Linked DNA regions of Homo sapiens: all the other regions are linked to region 3. The links are contacts of gene promoters, found by promoter capture Hi-C in blood cells and fetal thymus (Javierre and others, 2016). All regions are on one chromosome and are shown on one strand. The core of a region is centred on a gene start or on the middle of the fragment in contact, and the rest is flanking DNA. Distances in the headings are between cores, read along the strand shown.

Region 1 (2,700 bases), core at 20-2,519, 1.5 Mb after region 3:
AGGGGATGGAGGCCAGAGTCTCCCAGTGGGTGATGCTTTTGCTGCTGCTTAATCCTACCCCCTCTTCAAAGCAGAGTGGGACTTGGAGAGCAAAGGCCCATGCCCCCTTCGCTCCTCCTCTCATCATTTGCATTGGGCATTAGTGTCCCCCCTTGAAGCAATAACTCCAAGCAGACTCCAGCCCCTGGACCCCTGGGGTGGCCAGGGCTTCCCCATCAGCTCCCAACGAGCCTCCTCAGGGGGTAGGAGAGCACTGCCTCTATGCCCTGCAGAGCAATAACACTATATTTATTTTTGGGTTTGGCCAGGGAGGCGCAGGGACATGGGGCAAGCCAGGGCCCAGAGCCCTTGGCTGTACAGAGACTCTATTTTAATGTATATTTGCTGCAAAGAGAAACCGCTTTTGGTTTTAAACCTTTAATGAGAAAAAAATATATAATACCGAGCTCAAAAACACTGTGTTTGGTGTCATTGGGTCAAGGGTTGGGGATACACACGGCAGAATTCGGAAACAGGGTATAGATCAACAAAAATACACAGTCATAACAAGAAAAACTGGCGCCTGGCACAATCAACTCTCAGTTTCCTCTTCACTCAGCAGCATGTTGGGGATCCCGCGGCTGATGGGGAACATACGTCCAGATTCCGGGCACTGCAGGGTGCCCTCTATCACTTCCACCTGCGGGCAGGGAGGGACAGAGCTGAGCACTGGCAGCCTCAGTGCGGGAGGCAGGTGGCCCGGGAAGCAAGTGATGGGCCGCTTCTCACCTCCAGCAGCAGGTGGTGCATGGTCCTCAGAAACTCCTCATTCTCCTCATATCCCTCAACCGGCCCTTTCGGCACCTGGATCAGACGCAACTGTGGGCAAGAGGCCAAAATTATCTCCGGGCATCCCGAACTCCCGCCTCAGCCCGGCTGAGGTGTGCCCGCCCCGCATTCCCCGGGATATGCTGGGGCGGGGTAAGGATCCTCACGTTATCGGCCGCCTCCAGGAACGCCGACCACTCCACTTTAGGTATCATACGCGCCACGAAGTTGGGGTTGAATTCCACAGGGCAGATACGGACCTCGGTGGCCTGCAGGGCGGAGGAGTTTAGGCAAGCACTGGACCCCGGCCCACCATCCCGCCCGAAAAGGGAAGACTGCCGCCGGCGGGTACCTGGAGGCGCAGGGGGAAGCCACGGGACCCCACCCCCCGCACATGCGAGCTCAGCAGATTGTGGGTAAGCAGTTTCATGTCGCCGCACAAACTCTCGCCAGGCCGGAACCGGAAAAAGGTCGTCCTCCGCTGCCTCACTTCCGGGGATGCTCCTCTCGATGCTATTGGATAGCCAGGAGAACCGGAAGTGGCGAACTTGCTGGAACTTCTCGTGTTTGTGGGAGCTGAGGTAGGTAGGTGAAAGACCTGTCGGGTCACGCGCCGCTACCGGAAGCGTCTCAGCAGGAGGTTCCTACGGCGCACGCCCAGCTTTTTTTTGCCACAAATTCTTCGTAAGATGCAAATCATATGCAAAATAGCTGCAATGCAGGAGCTCTCGTTGAATGCAAAATAAACACATTTTACTCCTACACAGGCGCCTAACACCGTCGTCCTCTGTATCCCACTTTCGGTTAAGGGGCAGAAATACCGCCCTATCTGTAAATTAGGCCCATGGAAGCCGAGCCGCACCTCATTCCTATATGCAAATTAGCTGCTCCAGTGCCGAAAGCTCCGCCCCATTTGTAGTTGCGTCGGCTGTCCAGCACCCAGTGCAAACGAGGCGTGGGTCCCGGAAGCTCTGTTCTGCGGGTGGCCGCTCGCGCCTGCGCAGTGGAGGCGGCCCAGGCCCGCCTTCCGCAGGGTGTCGCCGCTGTGCCGCTAGCGGTGCCCCGCCTGCTGCGGTGGCACCAGCCAGGAGGCGGAGTGGAAGTGGCCGTGGGGCGGGTATGGGACTAGCTGGCGTGTGCGCCCTGAGACGCTCAGCGGGCTATATACTCGTCGGTGGGGCCGGCGGTCAGTCTGCGGCAGCGGCAGCAAGACGGTACAGTGAAGGAGAGTGGGCGTCTGGCGGGGTCCGCAGTTTCAGCAGAGCCGCTGCAGCCATGGCCCCAATCAAGGTGACCGCTGGCCCGGCCGGGCCTGACATCCCCCACTACCCCCATGGCAATCCCCGTCCCGCTAGTCTGAGAGTATCGCTTTATTTCCTGCCTGCCAGACCCCTCCCCTCCGCCCGCCCGGCTCATCCCTTCAGAAGGCCCTCGTGGCTGCCCACCTTTCTCGCCAATCGTGGGGGCCTCACCTCCCGGGACAGTCCCGAGGCATTGTGTTTTTTGTTTTTTGTTTTTTTTTGAGACGGAGTCTTTCTGTGTCGCCCAGGCTGGAGTGCAGTGACGCAATCTCTGCTCACTGCAGCCTCCGCCTCCCGGGTTCAAGCGATTCTACTGCCTCAGCCTCCTGAGTAGCTGGGACTACAGATGCGAGCCACCACGCCCAGCTATTGTATTTTTAGTAGAGACGGGATTTCACCCCGTTGTTCAGATTGGTCTCGAACTCCTGACCTCAGGTGAACCCCCCCCGCCCCCCCCCGCCTCGGCTTCCCGAAGTGCTAGGATTACAGGTGTGAGACACCACTCCCGGCCTGATTTCCCCTATCTTCTGAAACAGCTGTCCCTTAGCGCCCCCGCGGGGGCTTACCCCATCCCACTCCATGACCTCCCCTC
Region 2 (2,814 bases), core at 249-2,748, 1.4 Mb after region 3:
GGTTTTTTTTGTTTGTATTTTTTGAGATGGTGTCTCTCTCTGTCGCCCAGGCTGGAGTGCAGTGGCGTGATCCAGCTCACTGCAAGCTCTGCCTCCCGGGTTCACGCCATTCTCCTGCCTCAGTCTCCCGAGTAGCTGGGACTACAGGCGCCCGCCACCACGCCCGGCTAATTTTTTGTTTGTTTGTTTGTTTGTATTTTTAGTAGAGACGGGGTTTCACCGTGTTAGCCAGGATGGTCTCAATCTCCTGACCTCGTGATCCACCCGCCTGGACTTCCCAAAGTGCTGGGGTTAACAGGCGTGAGCCACCGCGCCCGGCCTGGGTGATGGTTTTAATGCACGGCTCTTACCTGAGAACTTAGGGTGCTAAGCTTTAATTACACTTTTCCATGGTTGCAACAAGCTGCGTTTTCTAAAGCTCTCTTCCTGGACTGGGGAGGCCTTTGGGGCAGGAGTAAAACTTCCTCATTTGCTCCAAGAGTGCTGCTTTCTGGGCTAGGAAGGCGCTGAGACTAGCAGCTGGCTGGACTTCCTGCTGTTAGTTTCATCAGCTTTCTTTTCCCCTGGGAATCCCCGGCAGGCCGCCCCCTTCCCCATCTGAGTGGCGATGCTCAGGTAGCCTCCCCCATTGGCAGGACTCTGCCGCCCCCAGGCTTGCCCACCCTGCATGCTCCAACCCCAGTGTGTTCACTGGAAAGGCCGCTGTCCTGCGCAGAGCTGGTGGCGGACGTGCCTTGCTCTACTGAAGTCCACATCCTAGGGCAGGTGATGAGCAGGAGGGTATAGACCACCAGAGACCCCTGAGGTGTCACCTAAGCAGGGACTTGATGGGAGTGAGCCTCGTGGGGACTCGGGGAGGCTCATCCAAGTGGAGCACAGTGGAGGGGTCGTGTTTGGAGCTGGGTGACCTGAGGGCCCGGGAGGTTGTGGATGGTCTGGGCCAAGTACTGTTCACTTGTTCACCTGGCAGGTCTGAGTTCATGAGTTTGAAGGTAGCCCTACGCGGAGCTAGGAAAAACTGCAAAATGGACTTGTTTCCCTCTGGGGCCTTGAGGGATCCTTGGTTGATAGGGATAGCCAGGCTGGAGCCGATTTAACCTGTGAGTCCCAAATAACCTGGATACACTCTGTCGACTCCTGGGCTCTCCCTCCGGCAGCCCAGTGATGTTTCAAAGCCCAAGGTCCCCACCTCATGTGACAGGCTGAGGATGGCAGACACTTCCCACAAAAGTGGACCTAGCCCTGAACACACACAGCCGGGGGACTTGTTGAGTTTGCACTGAGCTTCCCTCCAAATGAGGAAGGGGGCGTTTTTATGGTGTTGAGTCGCTAAGCCCCGCTCTCCCTAGCTTCCTGTGCTCTCTGGGGACAAAGGTGGGGGGGCCCCTGGAACCCTCTGTGGGCTGGCAGTGTGCTTCCTGCACCCAGCGCCAGCCCGCCCTGGGGAGGGGCTGAACCCGCCCTGCTCGTGATAAGGCACAAGCAAGGGCTGCCCTGAAGGAAGCTCCAAAGAGAAAGGAGGGCAGGAAGCCCACGGCCCACAGGGGTGTAGCCCGAGACCCACCTGCAGCCCCCAGCCCTTGCCAGGAAAGGTAAGCTCAGGCCTCACTGGGACCCTGGGCCCTTCTCTTCCTTATCCTCCTGCAGCCTCTGCCCAGCCTGCCTCTCGCCATGCGGCAGCCTGAACTTTCCACCTCCCCGGAGAGGCTTTGGCTGGTTTGTGATGTTGGCATCTGAGCTGTGGGCCAGGATCGGAACTACTTCCTGGCCTGGGTACGAAGCCATGGCCAGAGTGGGCAGCTGCCCCTGAGGGTCTGGGAGTGAGCTGTGGGCTGGCATTGAGCACGGTGGTCCTGAGTGAGCCCCTTCTTACCCGGCCTCAGTCTGCCCGCCTGTAGGATGGGAGCGGATTGGACTACATGGTCTCTGAGGGCCCTCGCGGCTCAAGCGCCAGCGCTGGAGAGAGAGTCTGAGGGTACCACGGGCGTGCTGGCCTGGGTGCTCACTCCCGCCCTCCTTCATGAGCGGCTTTCCTCTGGGTGTGTCCAGGGCATCACAGAGCTCTTCTGCCCAAACCCGGAGGCCTACCAGGGCCTGCCCACCTTGCCTCCTTCCACACTCTCTGTAGCAGCAGCCGCAGCCATGGCGGGGATGAAGACAGCCTCCGGGGACTACATCGACTCGTCATGGGAGCTGCGGGTGTTTGTGGGAGAGGAGGACCCAGAGGCCGAGTCGGTCACCCTGCGGGTCACTGGGGAGTCGCACATCGGCGGGGTGCTCCTGAAGATTGTGGAGCAGATCAGTGAGTGTCCGCTGCCCGCTTGCTGAACTCGGCACCATGGGCGGCCGCCACGGGTGTCTCTGGGCACTTCCGGGCCATCCCTGCTGCTCAGCTCCCGATAATGGTGTCACGGTGACTCAGGCATTAGCTTAATCATTTGGTTCCAAAAAAGACATTTCCCCAACTTCCTCTCCCTCCCACCCTCTTCCCTCCCTCCCTTCTGCTGCAGCTGGTCTGCTAAGGATCAGACGCAGCCACAATCCTCCATTCAGCCACCAATAGGGGCAGAAGGAGTGGTCTTGTCTGGGCCGAGGCTGAAGTCACATTGCTGAGGTCTGAGGGGGTCTAGGTGACCCAGGGGCCTGCCCCCACGCTCCCTCCCCTTGGCGGAAGCTTTGAGCAGGTTGGTGACAGGCCCAGCCTGGGTGGGAAGGCCCTGCCCCCACAGGAAGTTACAGCAGAGCAGCTGTGGTATCAGTCATGGAGGACCACGGGGCTAGTGACACGGGGGCTCCTCATCTTCCTTCCCTGCC
Region 3 (2,700 bases), core at 62-2,561:
ATACAGTAGGTTCCAAATAAATATATGGTTGAATATGCCAATCAGGGAATTTAGGAGGATTGAGCCCTGTCTAGGATCAGAGATAAAGGTAGGTCTTTCATGGGAAAGGGTCCTTGAGAGGGAATAAGTATCAAAGACATGCTAACTGTATTCCTTCTCTTCCTTCCAGGCAGTAGAACGAGTCCTGTACCCACACCTGTCCACCTACTGGACAAACTTGCAGGCTGTGCTGGATGATTATTCAGTATCTAATGCCCAGGTCAAAGCAGATGGACACAAAGTCTATGGAGCCATTCTGGTGAGTACCGTCCCCTTCCAGCCTCCCTTCCCTGCATGAGCTTAGCAGCCAAGCAGGCTTACTTTGGAATATTTGATGGGCCCAGGTTCCTCGAATTTTTTGCCTATCTTAGTCCTTGGCTCTTACAGGTGGCGGTAGAGCGACTGCTGAAGATGAAGGCCCAGGCAGCAGAGCCCAACAGGGGTGGCCCAGGTGGCAGGGGGTGCCGGCGCCTGGACGACCTGCCATGGGACAGCCTTCTCTTTCAAGAGTCGTCCTCCGGGGGCGGTGCAGAACCCAGCTTTGGGTCCGGCCTCCCGCTGCCGCCAGGGGGCGCGGGGCCGGAGGACCCTTCTCTTTCGGTGACCCTGGCCGACATCTACCGGGAGCTCTACGCCTTCTTCGGTGACAGCTTGGCCACACGCTTTGGCACCGGCCAGCCTGCACCCACGGCTCCGCGGCCGCCCGGGGACAAGAAGGAGCCGGCGGCAGCCCCGGACTCGGTGCGGAAGATGCCGCAGCTGACGGCAAGCGCCATAGTCAGCCCGCACGGCGACGAGAGCCCCCGGGGCAGCGGCGGAGGCGGCCCCGCGTCGGCCTCTGGGCCCGCCGCCTCTGAGAGCAGGCCCTTGCCGCGCGTGCATCGGGCGCGCGGGGCACCCCGGCAGCAGGGCCCCGGGACCGGCACCCGCGACGTTTTCCAGAAGAGCCGTTTCGCCCCGCGCGGCGCCCCGCACTTTCGTTTCATCATAGCCGGGCGGCAGGCTGGGAGGCGCTGCCGCGGGCGCCTTTTCCAGACTGCCTTCCCCGCGCCGTACGGGCCTAGCCCGGCCTCGCGCTACGTGCAGAAACTGCCCATGATCGGCCGTACCAGCCGCCCCGCCCGCCGGTGGGCGCTCTCGGACTACTCGCTGTACTTGCCGCTCTGAGTCAGTGGCCCCTTCGTTCCTTGTAAATAAATCCCGCCCCCGGAAATGACGTCTCCACCTTCGTGGGTCGCGCCGGATAAGGTGGGCTTTGGGCGGGGTGCTGCTGCAGCGGCGCTTCCTGGTGGTCAGGGCGCCATGGCGCTGTCCTGGCTGCAGCGCGTCGAGCTTGCGCTCTTTGCTGCCGCCTTCCTGTGCGGGGCCGTGGCGGCCGCGGCGATGACTCGGACCCAGGTGCGGCTGCGGGGCGGGGTCAGGTAGGCGGGGGAGCTGGCCGGTCTGGACATGGCGAGGCCACTTTCGCTTTCCGACCGGGCTTGCTGCTGCTCGGAGCCGGTGGACCTGGTGAGGCACGGCTGGCGCCGGCCTGTACCTGAAATGCAGCGAGGCTAATCGCGCTTTGTGGCTCCTCCTGGCCAGGTCATACTTCGAAGTTGTCCCCTCGCCAAAGGGACGGGTCAGTAGCGTCTTAAAGCACTAGGTGGAGTCGGGTTTCGTGGCTCCTGCTGCACAGCCTTACTGTGGTTCCGAAACAGAAGTCAGTGCAGAACCTGCGTCCATCCGTTAAATCAGAAGCCATTTGTGCTGAGCTTTGTCGAGAAATAAAGCATAGTGTAGTGGAGATGATCAAGCTGCCACATGATTGTAGCACAGTGTGTTAAATGACAAAATGAGAGATGGAGAAAACGCTGACGTAAAGGTAGAAGCCAATAATTTACATCGTTTACCCCAGCCAGGTAATCTGGTTAATAAACATGGGTTCATTTAATGCCTATAAAGTAGGCACTAGTGTGCCTATTTTACACCATGAGAAAACCTCAGAGATCCGCCGGGCGCGGTGACTCACGCCTGTAATCCCAGCACTTTGGGAGGCTGAGGCAGGCGGATCACTTGAGGTCAGGAGTTCGAGACCAGCCTGGCCAACATGGCAAAACTCTGTCTCTACTAAAAATACAAAAATTAGCCGGGTGTGGTGGCTCATGCCTGTAATCCCAGCTACTTCGGAGGCTGAGGCAGGAGAATCGCTTGAACCTGGGAGGCGGAGGTTGCAGTGAGTCGAGATCGTGCCATTGCACTCCAGCCTGGGTGACGAGCGAATCTCCATCGCAAAAACAAAAACAAAAACACTGGCCGGGCCTGGTGGCTCACGCCTGTAATCCCAGCACTTTGGGAGGCCGTGGCAGGCGGATCACGAGGTCAGGAGATCAAGACCATCCTGGCCAACACGGTGAAACCCTGTCTCTACTAAAAATACAAACAATTAGCCAGGCATGGTGGCGGGTGCCTGTAGTCCCAGCTACTCAGGAGGCTGAGGCAGGAGAATGGCATGAACCCAGAAGGCAGAGCGTGCAGTGAGCCGAGATGGCGCCACTGCACTCCAGCAAAAAAAAAAAAAAAAAGCACCTCACAGATAGTTATTTGTTGAAGGATATACAAGGCCTGGGTTTACTCTAAGGTTTCTGCACAGAGACCATAACTTGTGAGGCTTCTCTGAAG
Region 4 (2,700 bases), core at 129-2,628, 1.4 Mb before region 3:
CACCACGGCTGTGTTCCAGTAATATTTATTTATGGACACTGAAGTCTGAGTTTCACATAATTTTCACGTCACAAGATATTATTAACTTCTTGCGAAAAAGGATTCTCCCGGCTGAGCTAAAACAGGTCACATCCAGGGGTAAGAAATGCTAGTTCCCATCCAGCCCTTAGTCTTAGAAAAAGGCTCTACGCAGGCTGGGCGCGGTAGCTCACGCCTGTAATCCCAGCACTTTGGGAAGCCGAGGCGGGCGGATCACATGAGGTCAGGAGTTCGAGACCAGCCTGACCAACATGGAGAAACCCCGTCTCTACTAAAAATACAAAAATTAGCCGGGCGCGGTAGCGGGCGCCTGTAATCCCAGCTACTTGGGAGGCTGAGGCAGGGGAATCGCTTGAACCCGGGAGGCGGAGGTTGCAGTGAGCCGAGATCGTGCCACTGCATTCCAGCCTGGGCGACAGAGTGAGACTCTGTCTCAGAAAAAAAAAAAAGAAAGAAAAAGAAAAAGGCTCTACTCCAAACTCTTGCAGTGTTACTTTTATAATTTAGAACTACAAATAAATGAAGGGGTAGAAAATCAGTTTGTTGCTCTCCCTCCCCGATGGACTGGGGGACTTCAAGAATCTTGAGGACCAGATTTAGGATACAAGCCCTAAACCCTCATCTTACAAATCAAAAACACTGTGACACTGGGGCCCAAAACAAGAAAATGACTTAGCCAAGGTAAGTGGCCGAGCTGGTACAGGAATTCGGGTCCACTCCCTCTCAGCTCTGAGGATTCCTTATTCTCAAAGGTAGCTTCTGTTAAAGTCGGAACATGAGGAGTGAAGGGCTCAATATTCCTGCCAAGGAGGTAGGTGAACAAGTTACCCCTTAGCACCGGAATAATTATAGACCCCGACTTCAGGCTGTGCCTAGGTCCGGCTCAGGTGTCCAAAGAACCGTTCCAGGCACCCGAGGGGTGATCCCTGACTCCTCTGCTGGGTGCTCGTGCCAGCTAACAATGGGTGAAAATTGGGGTGAGGAGCTCCAGGTGCTTTCTGCGTCCTCTGAAGAGCTTTCGTGCCTTTATAACCACCGCGTTGGAAGGAAGAGCGCGGAGAAAGGTGCCCACTTTCTAAAAGAGAAAATTGAGGCCGAGCAAGGGGATCGCGACAGTGCGAAGCGAGATAGCAGCGGAACCAGCATTCGAACCCAGGTCCCTGAACTCCCAGCCCCGGGATCCTTCTCACCCCTAACCACAGTGGGACGAAGTGAGGCCGGGATCTCCGGAACCCGCCTCTCGCTACCAGGCGCCGGAGCTGCCGCTCCCGAGGTTCCTAGGAGATGCAGAAGACACTGCCCTGAATGCCTACAGCCGGCTGGCAATGCCGCCCCAGAGCAGAGCGGCGGGTGCCGCCTCGCCTTCTTATAGGCTCGCAGCACTTCCAGTCGCGCGCGAGGCCTCCTGGGAAGTGAAGTCCGGAGACCAGGGGTGGCCGGCTCCCAGCGCGCCAAGCTGCTAACCCCCTAACTCCCGTTCCTCCTCGGCGTTTCTTCTCCAAGTCCGAAGTCAGGGTCCAGGACTGCTGCGATGCATCAGCCCCGCCTCTCATCCCCCATCCAGAGGAGGCGGAAATGTTCAGGTGAACGCGAAGCCTCCCACTACGAGCCGGCCCTCAGCAAGGCCGTGCGCAGTGTGGGCGGGAGCCCTAAGTCAGCTAGCGGCGACGCTGGGAGGGCCCGGAGCAGGCCGGGCCCCGAACAGCGAAAGCTCCAACATGGCGGCCAGACTGGCCATAGAGCGGGAAGAGAAAGCCGGGGACTAGCAGGCCGCACGGCGCAGACGGGGCCCGCCTCCTCCATTTACTTCCGGAATTTAAAGCCGGCTTCCGGAAGCCGGGACGATGTCCGCATGACAACCGACGTTGGAGTTTGGAGGTGAGAGTGATTGACGAGGAGTGGGTTAAGTGACCAGAAGTCAGAATTTTTGGTGCTGTTGTTTTGGGCTTGGGTTTTATGCTTTGTTGTTGTTTGCCAAGGAAGCCTCGTTTTTAAGTGGATTGGGAAGCGTGAGGAATACTGCCCTAGGTACAAAGGGAAGGCGGCAGGTAGCGGTGGACGAATTAAAGAGCTTCATGAGCTTGTGAGTCTCCACTGCCCTAAACTGGAGGGGATCGTCGTACGTAGAGACAGGCATGGGCGTTTCTGCATAACGGATCCTCAAAACAGCCCTGGATGGTGGCCTATGAGTAGTGGTTAAGAGCACGGGTTTGGCGTCACAGTTATGAAGCCGGGTTCTGCTGACTTGAGACCTGGAGGAATGCCTTGAGCTCTGACTTCTGTGTCCTTTCCTGTAGAATAGGAATAATTCCCACCTTGCAGACTTGTAGGGAGGATTAAAGGAAACGATCTTGGTTGACAAGTTTATCGTGGTGTGAGTACCTAGGTAGTAGCTATCAGTGTTATTTAATGCGGCCGGGCGCAGTGGCTCACGCCTGTAATCCCAGCACTTTGGGAGGCCGAGGCGGGAGGATCACGAGGTCAGGAGATCGAGACCATCCTGGCTAACATGGTGAAACCCCGTCTCTACTAAAAATACAAAAAATTAGCCAGGCGTGGTGGCACGCACCTGTAGTCCCAGCTACTTGGGAGGCTGAGGCAGGAGAATCGCTTGAACCCGAGAGGCGGAGGTTGCAGTGAGCCAAGATCATGCCACTGCAC
Region 5 (2,806 bases), core at 1-2,500, 1.4 Mb after region 3:
CAACTGCAGGAGGGTGCCCAGGGGCACGAAGCCATCTGTGGGCAGGCAGGGTGCTCAGGAGCTAACCTTGCTCTGGACTGGGCCAGGGTTAACAGGGAGCCACAGGCAACCGAAACAAAGTCTGGGCTTGGAGATCGCTTGGGCATCCTCTGTGGGACCTTTAGAAAGTCTCCCCTTTCTGGGCCGCAGTTTTTTCAACTTACATAAAAAGAGGATCTGCCTCACGGAGGGGCAGGGAGGTGAGTGCCCAGCATAGCGCTGGCCCGGAGTGCACACTCACACCACCAGCTGCACCGTATCCTCCAGGGCTCGCCCTCGGGGTAAGTGCTGATCTGGCTGCTTGGCTGGAGGGGGCGGTCACCAGGCCTGGCCCAGACAAGAACTCTCCTCAGTCTGCTGTGGACATGACAGGGGCTCTAGGCCTTGCTCTCCTCTGTGCATGGGGAGGAAGTGCACTCTGTGCCTTCCTCAGGGAGCGGTGGAGGCAGCCATCAGGGAGGAGTCGCAGACAGGCTCACGTTTCTCTCTGGGCTCAAGCCCCAGCCTCCAAGGCCCCTACTTACCAGCTCCCATGGGAAGCCCCAGCTTCAAGGCCCCATGGCGCAGGGCATAGGACAGAGCCTTGGACAGCTGCACGTCTCGGTCCTGAAAGAACCCAGCGGTGGCCCCTAGTCTCCATGGTGACCCTGCCCTACTGCCCATCCTGAACCCTCAATGACCCACTGCAGAGAGAGCCCAGAGAGAAAGGAGTGCCAGTGGTCTCCAGGAATAGTAGGACCCTTCAGCTCCGCCCCCCAGCAACTCCCAGGGAGCCTGGACTGGTGGGAGGGGGTGGGGAGGAGGCGCGCACCTGTTCTCGGGGTCTGGGAGCCCTTCTACCCCTGGACCCTGCTGCTTCCTGCCTCCCTCCTCCAGAGAAGTTCATGGTTAAGACCTGTGGGGGGCAGTGACGAGGGGGGACTGCTTTAAGGCCCCTTCCACGTCCCCATCCCTCCCAGAAAGTCACAAAGCCTCAGGAAGTGAGCGCTGGGTGGGAGTATACGGCTCATTAAGTTCACCACCCCCAAGTCCCTGCTGCAGAGAGGGAAACTAAGGCCCAGCAGGCCAGACTTGCCCAAGGTCACACGGTCAGCCAGGAGCGCAGGGAGGCCGAGCCCCGCACCCCAGATCGCTGGTGCGCCCCGCAGGGTGGTCCGGGAGGCAGGGCCGACGTGCCGACGGACCGGGCGGAAGCGTCGGGGCGGCGGGGACAAACCTCCAGGATCCTCGACCGCGGCGGACCCGCCAATGAAAAGCCGCGTGGAAAGGGGGCGGGCACTTCCGCTTCGGGGAAGGGGCGGAGCCTGAGGGACCCGGCGGCTGGTGAGCGCCCGCTGGAGGCTGGAGCTTCCGGGCCCTGGAAAGGGGTCCCCGCGCGCCCCGGGTCGGAGGCAGACCCCTGGGTTTGGGGGACATGGGCATTTGGGGCGCCTGAACCCAAGACCTCTGGATGGTAGGGATGCCCGGGCGTCCTGGATACCCTGCGGGACTCGGGGCTCCTGCGGGGAAGATGGCACGTTTTACTGCCCAAGGAGTGGTCAGGGGGGTGGAGAAGCGCTGCGGATACCCTCAGGAGGTCTGCGACAGAGGGGGCTAGCTGCGCAGCCCAGGAGTGGTAGTGGCCCCCCTGGATGACAGGCCTGGCCGTATCCTCCCCCAGAGCTGCCCCGTTCAGACCATGGATCCTGAGGTGACCTTGCTGCTGCAGTGCCCTGGCGGGGGCCTGCCCCAGGAGCAGATACAGGCCGAGCTGAGCCCCGCCCATGACCGTCGCCCACTGCCAGGTGGGGACGAGGCCATCACTGCCATCTGGGAGACCCGGCTAAAGGCCCAACCCTGGCTCTTCGACGCCCCCAAGTTCCGCCTGCACTCAGCCACCCTGGCGCCTATTGGCTCTCGGGGGCCACAGCTGCTCCTGCGCCTGGGCCTTACTTCCTACCGAGACTTCCTGGGCACCAACTGGTCCAGCTCAGCTGCCTGGCTGCGACAGCAGGGTGCCACCGACTGGGGTGACACGCAGGCCTATCTGGCGGACCCACTGGGGGTGGGCGCTGCACTAGCCACAGCCGATGACTTCCTTGTCTTCCTGCGCCGCTCCCGGCAGGTGGCTGAGGCCCCTGGGCTGGTGGACGTACCTGGTGGGCACCCTGAGCCTCAGGTGAGATTCCAGGCTGGGCACAAAGACCCAGACAGCTCAAGGGAGCTGCAGCTCTCCACCCTCCCAATCCTCCCAGCTTTGGTTTCCTCATTCCTTAAAGGGAAAATTGGCCTGGTATTTCTCTGGAAGTTTGCTCAGGGCAGTCCACCTGCCTCCCCACTGACCCCTGCCCCAGTCCTGTGAGAAACTAGAAAACACGGGAGGAAAGATTGGGCACAGGAAGAAGATGCCCTACTCCACCCCTGCCCCCTGTGTATCTCCTTTGAAGCTGGACCTCTGGTTGTCTGTCAGGGAAAGGACACCAGACTCAGGATCACTAACTCTCTTACACTGTGCCACATCAGACCCTCAAGGCCAGCAGGTATAGGCTTGCTGGTCCTGAGATGGGGCAGGGGGAAGAGGTGGGGAGCAGGGGCTGAGCCTGACCTCTCACAGGCCCTGTGCCCTGGTGGCAGCCCCCAGCACCAGGACCTCGCTGGGCAGCTGGTGGTACATGAACTCTTTTCCAGTGTCCTTCAGGAGATCTGTGATGAGGTGAGTGAGGTTGACCTGGACAGGGTGGTAGACATGAAGGGAGGGGGTAGGACTTGCCAGAATTCTACAGGTCTG
Region 6 (2,772 bases), core at 153-2,652, 1.5 Mb after region 3:
AGAGGCTGCTAGCAAGAGCCGGATTTGAACTCCAGCCTGTGAGGGCAGAGGCCAAGCTCCACCTTGCATGGTTCTGTTTTCCCAATGAGGTCTAGAGGCTCCTGGGCCTCAGGAAGTCGGAGGGTTGAAATCCTCCTAAGAAGCTGTGTGACCTTGGGCAAGTCCCTTCCCCTCTCTGGGCCTCAAGTGGAGATCATAATCACACCCCACAGGGCCAGGGCTGAGAGCGAGGAGATCCGCCAGGTTAGAGTTGATGGAGAACTTGGCGGGGTGTGGAGGAAGGCCAGGGCCAGGCAGGGCTCCTTGTGGAGGTCTCAGAGCCTGGGGCAAAGGGGCCTGCAGGGGAGCTCCTCCTTTGCTGACCCCTCCTCCCCCAGAGCCAGCTGCATCTCTTTCTGGGTTTCTAGGTGACTTGGCTGGCCCCTCTGGATGAGTTCTACTTTAAACCTGCTGCTGTTACTGCCTCTGTATTGGGGGGGCTCCCACAGGGGCCCCCAGGCAGGAACCCCCCCCACCAGCTAAGCCCTGCGGGAGGGGCTGCAGCCCCCACCCATCCCATTGCCCATGCGCCTTCCCCGCTCCCATCTCTGGAACGCAGATTTCAGGGCACCTGCTGTGGGCCAGGCACTGCAGAGCCCCTCCTCAACCCTCCTGTCTGGGGACATCCACAAAGCTTCTGACCCCTCTGGGCAGACAACAGCGTTCCCCCCGCGGTTCCCAGCCAAGAGGCTCACAGTCAGGTTCCAGTCATGGGAGTCTGCAGCAACAAGAAGGGGGCTGTTCTAGGGCTCACTCTCGAAGACCAGGATGCTTGGGTCCTTAAAGGAGGTGGCAGGCGCCCGGCCTCCCTGGGCTAGGGACGGGGGAGGGGTGCCTGCCGGCGGGAGGTCCATTAGCCGGCTAAGTGCTCCCAGGGAGGGGGGACCGCGCGGCATAAGAGTGGGTGAGGCGAAGCCAGGGCAGAGGGGGGCGGAAGAAGCTTTTCCTGCATTCAGCTAAGTGCGGCAGAAGAGGGTGGGCGACAGGGCTGTGCAGCGACCCCCCGGCCCAAGTCTAGCCCTCCGCTGGTACTGCAGCCCTAGTCGCTCGGAAACCTCAGTGGGCTGATCCCGGACCGCCTTAAGCAGCGCCCTCTACACCCAGTCCCTCCAGCTGCTCCCCAACAGCCACTTCGGCCCCCAGCGCCCTCCTTCCACCACAGGCCTGAAGAATCAGGTTCTGCTGAGCCCCGCAGCAAAGCCCCCGACCCGTCCGCGTGCCCCTGCCCCAATCCCCGCTCCGGCTGCAGTCGCCGCCCCGGCCGCCAGGGGGAGCCGACGCGGTGGGAGGGGGCGGGGCCCGGGAGGCCCCGCCCCGTCCCCGCCCCGCCCGGGCCCCGCCGAGGCTCTGGTCGGTCCGGGACAGACTGGCGGGCGGGCGGGCACTGACGCCGCGGGGCCGGAGCGGGCCGCGCGGTGGGAGCAGCGGCGCCGTCGGTCCCCGTCAGGGCTCCGTGGGTCCCCGACCCGCCCCTGGCCGGGCCATGGCGGGCGCCCAGCCCGGCGTCCACGCGCTGCAGTTGGAGCCGCCCACCGTGGTGGAGACCCTGCGGCGCGGGAGTAAGTTCATCAAATGGGACGAGGTAAGCGCGCGGGCCCCTGCTCCGCCCAAATCCCGGGACTCTTTCAGTCAAGCTCGACCAGACGCTGGGGACCCCCACCCCAGCCTCGCCTGCCCGTGGCGCCACCCTCATCCCAGTCTGGCGGCGCCCCGGAAACTTAAGTCCCCGATCGTCTCCGTAATGAAGACTTTGTCCCCCCAACTCCCAGTCCCTCAGCTCTGGAAAATTTGCCTCCACTCCTTGGCGCAGAGACTTTGAACCCCAATAAACCCCGTCCCCCCGTTTTCCATTCGTTCTTCCCACCGCTCCCTGCCAGACTAATTCTCGTTCCCCGATCCTGGCCTGGTGCCCAGACCCCTGCCCAGCACTAGACTCCCCGGCTGCAGGACCCTGACTTCCAGGCTGGCTGGGGGCATCCTCATTCTGGGTGTGTGCCAGGGCGCCCCTACTCTCCCCGGTGCCCTGCCTGAACAGTCCTCGTCCATTCATCATTTTTCCCCCTGTTCTGGTTGGCACCCCTTCGCCCTGCTTCTGGATCCCAGCCCAGCTCCCTGTTCAGATGGGAGCACCCAGTCACCCCCTAGTGGAGACTTTGCCCCCCAAGTTCCTCCACCCCTGGGAACTTTGCTCCCCACTCCTTAGGCTTGGGACCTTGAACCCCAATACATCCTGGCCCCCCTTTCCCTGTCCTGCCCCTGGTGCTTCCCAAATGCCTGTGTCCCCACCTTCGGCTGCCCATCCCCATCCTGGGTGCATCCTCTTCTGCCCCCTGGGCCCTTCCTTCCCTAGGGCCTCCACCCGGCCGGCCTGAGCTTCCTCGCAGCTCCTTCCCAGTCAGGCCACGGGCCTGGAAGACTCTGGGCTCTTTTCCGGCTGGGTGGGGCCCCGGGGTAGGCGTGGGAGCTGGGGGGAGGAGATGGGGGCGTGGCCTGAAGCGGCAGGTGTGCGAGGTGGGGTGCCTGGGGGCCCCAGGGGCCGGGGGAGACCCCTCCCCCCAGGCTGGCCTGAAGGGAAAAGTTTCTTCTTTTCATTCCACTGTGATAAACCCAAATAAGGAAGTGGGAACAGGGAGAGGGCCCTGGGGGTGGGGTGGGGGGTGCTGACGGAGGCTTGGGGCAGGAGAGCAGGGGACCTGGGCTGCCTTTGAGGTCCAGACCCCTGGGGAGAGGTGG
Region 7 (2,700 bases), core at 34-2,533, 1.5 Mb after region 3:
TGTTCCAGGTGCCAAGGCCAGTGCTGGGCACAGGGGTGCTAGAGCCTACTGAGAAATGGACATAGAACCCCAGTGTCCATCCTTCCATCTTGGAGCCTGTGCTTCTCACCCCACACAGCCCTGCTGTCTGGGAGGACTGTCTGCCCCTTGAGGTCATCTGCCCCTGGCCACTGTGCCAGGACAGTCCTGCTGTGGGTACGAGCCACAGGGCAAGAAAGAACACATCTGGGAGCTGGAAGGCCTAATCCCAGGGAAAGCATGTAGCCTGGGGCAGGGCACCAAGGAGGCTTCCAGCCCCCACATTCTAAGGAAAGAAACACCAGGAAGGTGTGGCCTTAGGCAGGCCCCTTTTCCTTTTCGGATCACTGCCTGCCTGTCACTGATTTCTGTCCTAACCCCACACTAATAGCTGCTATATATATATATATGTATTTTAAGAGCTGGAGTCTCCCTAAGTCACTCAGGCTGGCCTTGAACTTCTGGGCTCAAGCGATCCTCCTGCCTTGGCCTCCCAAAGTGCTGAGATTACAGGTGTGAGCCACCACGCCCGGCAGCAACCATTTTTTAGCTTTAATGTGCACCAGCTCTGTAATCAAGTGCATCCTATATGTTCCTGCTAATTAACTCAACAGTCCTACAATGGTGGTTATTAATTGCTGTTTTACGAAAGAGGAAACTGGGGCTCTGAGAGTTTGGGGACCGACCCAAAGCATTCAGTGCCTGTGGATGCAACTGGGATGCAGGGAGCCAGTGGGCTGGGGGTGAGGTGTCCCGGCAGGTGGAGGTGGTGGGGTACTTACCTCCATGATGGCTGCTGCTGGTTGGCTGCTCCTGCTGGTGACTGGCGTCCCACAGGAGGCCTGGGGCCTGGCGATGATGCTTGCCGGAGCCTGAGGGCCCGTCCCCTGCGGGGCTGGGGCCCAGGCCCCTCTCTGCAGAGCTGGAGTCTTCCTGCTCACTCGGCTCAAACTCTGGGATCTGGAACATGCTCTGGGCTGTGAGGACAAGATGTTACGTAGTCAAGGCACAGCTGGGGCCAACGGTGGCCCTGGAAGGCAGAGGCAGGTACCCCTGGCTTCCTCTCCCACCGTAGCGCCCCCAGGCCCGCCAGGCCTCCTGGGCCCTCATCTGTCTGCCGGGTCTGGCCTGGCAGGGAGCTGAGGCTGTCGGCTCAGGACCTCAGTCTCCCCTCAGAACCCCGGTGGACCCAGGCCCCGCCCCGCCCGTGGTGACGGCGCACAGGTCTCACCCCAAGCCCGATCTCGAGGCCCCTGACCCGGGCCTGCCGCCTCCCTCCAGCACCCCGGGCTCCGGGCCCTAGTTGCTTGGGCAACGGGAACTGTCAGCGACCTGGCCCAATCACCTCTCGGAACGTCACTCGGGTAGGTCCAGAGGCGGGGTCAACCCGGCCCGGCCCCGCCCCCCCGCCGGATCCAAGGCTCCTCGTCCGCATCCTTTTTCCTCCCTCCTTCGGCCCCGGGGCTCACATCCTCGCTGCCTCACACCTTGGGCGTGTGTGGGAGCAGGAGAGGGATTCTCTGGGGTCCCCATTTGGAACCTGGAGACCCACTTCTGCCAACAAGTCCTTCAGCCCCTCTGGGCCTTAGTTTCCCCCCAGTGAAGTGGGGATAGTGACAGCTCCCCCGGGAGCCAGTGAAAACTTTGTGAAGGGAGTGATTACTGCGGGCGAAGGCGCTTGGCACAGCCACAACTGAAGCTCAGCCGTCGGATGTGATTATTGTTGCTATTGTTACCGCTCCGCCTGGACTGGGTGCCCGGTCGGAAAGTCCCGCTCCCCGCTCCTCCTCCCAGGCGCGGAAGCTTCGCGCCGCCCGCCTCGGGGGACACCTCCCGCGCCATCTCGGGGGCACTGGAGATAAGGAAAGGAACCTCCTCCCTGGCTGGGATGGCTGCCCGGGCGCGGGAGGAGGGCCGGGGACCCGGTGAGGGAGGACCGTAGGGCCCGTGGGGGCTTCACGCCTGGCAGGCGGCCGGCCAGGTGAGCAGGGCCGCGGGCGCGCCGGGGCGAGGGGCGGGCCCGCGCGGGGGATTCGGGGCTCCGCGGGTTCAGGCCCGGGGGCGGGGCCCGGGGGCCATCTTGGCTATGGGCGGAAGTTTTCTTCAGAGACCGAGGGACGGGAATCCGTTGCCGCCCCCGGCCGGGCGGCACGACCCCGATTTGGGTATAGGAGAGAGGAGCGTGGGAACTGGCGGACCCCCATACAAGTAAAGGCGGGCGGCACGGGGCACGGCCCACCCGGGGACCCCCTGGATGCGGCACGGCCCCCGCAACTCGGCCGCCCTCCTGCCGCCTCCCGTAACCCCGGGCGCCCGCCAGCGGCGCAGCTCGCGCCAATTCTCGTACGGTTTCACGCCGGGTGCGGCGCTGGACTGCGGAGCCAGCCGGGCCGCTGCGCAATTTGCGTAGCGAACGGCGCCCGCGCAGGCGCGGAGGGGGAGGGGGGCGGAGCAGCGGGAGCCGGGGAGCCGGAGCCCCGGGTCCCCACGACCTGAGCCGGCTCTCCCATCAGCGGCCTGAGGACCTGGCGTCCGCCTCCTCCCTCCCCTTGAGGCTGGAGCGTGGACGCGGTGGGGGAGGGTGGGGCGGGGGCAGCTTTCGAGAATTACGAGGACAGGAGGCAGAGGCCCTCCCCATCCGCATTATTGGAGGAGAGAGAGCCTCCCCCAGCTTGGGGAGGG

What was found. The method cuts DNA at HindIII sites, captures the fragments that hold promoters and counts their contacts. A CHiCAGO score of 5 or more calls a contact.
Region 1: the fragment with the promoter of TRMT112 here is called in contact with the fragment with the promoter of TMEM179B in region 3 in 2 of 17 cell types (non-activated CD4 T cells and naive CD4 T cells); the score reaches 8.7 in non-activated CD4 T cells.
Region 2: the fragment with the promoter of FERMT3 here is called in contact with the fragment with the promoter of TMEM179B in region 3 in 4 of 17 cell types (fetal thymus, erythroblasts, total CD8 T cells and 1 more); the score reaches 12.2 in fetal thymus.
Region 4: the fragment with the promoter of CYB561A3 here is called in contact with the fragment with the promoter of TMEM179B in region 3 in 3 of 17 cell types (neutrophils, megakaryocytes and erythroblasts); the score reaches 17.9 in neutrophils.
Region 5: a contact is called between the fragment with the promoter of TRPT1 here and the fragment with the promoter of TMEM179B in region 3, in 1 of 17 cell types (non-activated CD4 T cells). The highest score is 6.4, in non-activated CD4 T cells.
Region 6: the fragment with the promoter of PLCB3 here is called in contact with the fragment with the promoter of TMEM179B in region 3 in 5 of 17 cell types (activated CD4 T cells, naive CD4 T cells, M0 macrophages and 2 more); the score reaches 11.4 in activated CD4 T cells.
Region 7: the fragment with the promoter of BAD here is called in contact with the fragment with the promoter of TMEM179B in region 3 in 14 of 17 cell types (total B cells, total CD4 T cells, erythroblasts and 11 more); the score reaches 15.8 in total B cells.

Annotation. Positions count from the first base shown.
Region 1 is chr11:64,316,290-64,318,989 of GRCh38, forward strand. TRMT112 (tRNA methyltransferase activator subunit 11-2) reads right to left here and starts at 1,270. Exons shown (of 4, transcript NM_016404.3): 1 at 1,160-1,270; 2 at 975-1,076; 3 at 769-858; 4 at 171-679. The coding sequence starts at 1,237. The coding sequence ends at 572. It overlaps ESRRA (estrogen related receptor alpha), which reads left to right. Exons shown (of 7, transcript NM_004451.5): 7 at 1-454. It overlaps PRDX5 (peroxiredoxin 5), which reads left to right and starts at 1,832. Exons shown (of 6, transcript NM_012094.5): 1 at 1,832-2,097. The coding sequence starts at 1,927. RefSeq lists enhancers at 1-289, 1,447-1,646 and a silencer at 1,737-1,896. The HindIII fragment of the contact is 12,949 bases long and covers 1-2,700 here.
Region 2 is chr11:64,205,223-64,208,036 of GRCh38, forward strand. It overlaps FERMT3 (FERM domain containing kindlin 3), which reads left to right and starts at 1,499. Exons shown (of 15, transcript NM_031471.6): 1 at 1,499-1,592; 2 at 2,129-2,302. The coding sequence starts at 2,143. RefSeq lists enhancers at 108-670, 508-767, 671-1,233, 1,668-1,747, 2,068-2,147. The HindIII fragment of the contact is 2,303 bases long and covers 370-2,672 here.
Region 3 is chr11:62,786,091-62,788,790 of GRCh38, forward strand. It overlaps TMEM179B (transmembrane protein 179B), which reads left to right and starts at 1,312. Exons shown (of 5, transcript NM_199337.3): 1 at 1,312-1,437. The coding sequence starts at 1,342. It overlaps TAF6L (TATA-box binding protein associated factor 6 like), which reads left to right. Exons shown (of 11, transcript NM_006473.4): 10 at 170-298; 11 at 427-1,252. The coding sequence ends at 1,206. It also overlaps a transcript of TMEM223 not described here. RefSeq lists an enhancer at 383-582 and a silencer at 833-942. The HindIII fragment of the contact is 7,473 bases long and covers 1-2,700 here.
Region 4 is chr11:61,360,504-61,363,203 of GRCh38, forward strand. It overlaps CYB561A3 (cytochrome b561 family member A3), which reads right to left and starts at 1,379. Exons shown (of 7, transcript NM_153611.6): 1 at 1,230-1,379. It overlaps TMEM138 (transmembrane protein 138), which reads left to right and starts at 1,871. Exons shown (of 5, transcript NM_016464.5): 1 at 1,871-1,917. RefSeq lists enhancers at 930-1,149, 1,268-1,989, 1,400-1,889. The HindIII fragment of the contact is 4,335 bases long and covers 1-2,700 here.
Region 5 is chr11:64,224,936-64,227,741 of GRCh38, forward strand. It overlaps TRPT1 (tRNA phosphotransferase 1), which reads right to left and starts at 1,251. Exons shown (of 8, transcript NM_001033678.4): 1 at 1,115-1,251; 2 at 851-934; 3 at 564-645; 4 at 1-35. The coding sequence starts at 925. It overlaps NUDT22 (nudix hydrolase 22), which reads left to right and starts at 1,339. Exons shown (of 6, transcript NM_032344.4): 1 at 1,339-1,492; 2 at 1,700-2,197; 3 at 2,633-2,731. The coding sequence starts at 1,718. RefSeq lists enhancers at 157-879, 1,480-1,999, 2,000-2,517 and a silencer at 1,045-1,454. The HindIII fragment of the contact is 9,418 bases long and covers 1-2,806 here.
Region 6 is chr11:64,250,128-64,252,899 of GRCh38, forward strand. It overlaps PLCB3 (phospholipase C beta 3), which reads left to right and starts at 1,403. Exons shown (of 31, transcript NM_000932.5): 1 at 1,403-1,621. The coding sequence starts at 1,523. RefSeq lists enhancers at 1-195, 1,490-2,135, 2,136-2,772 and silencers at 1,215-1,684, 2,172-2,385. The HindIII fragment of the contact is 12,307 bases long and covers 978-2,772 here.
Region 7 is chr11:64,283,382-64,286,081 of GRCh38, forward strand. It overlaps BAD (BCL2 associated agonist of cell death), which reads right to left and starts at 1,284. Exons shown (of 4, transcript NM_032989.3): 1 at 1,250-1,284; 2 at 801-995. The coding sequence starts at 987. GPR137 (G protein-coupled receptor 137) reads left to right here and starts at 2,467. Exons shown (of 7, transcript NM_001170880.2): 1 at 2,467-2,700. RefSeq lists silencers at 1,164-1,453, 1,804-2,543. The HindIII fragment of the contact is 5,985 bases long and covers 1-1,819 here.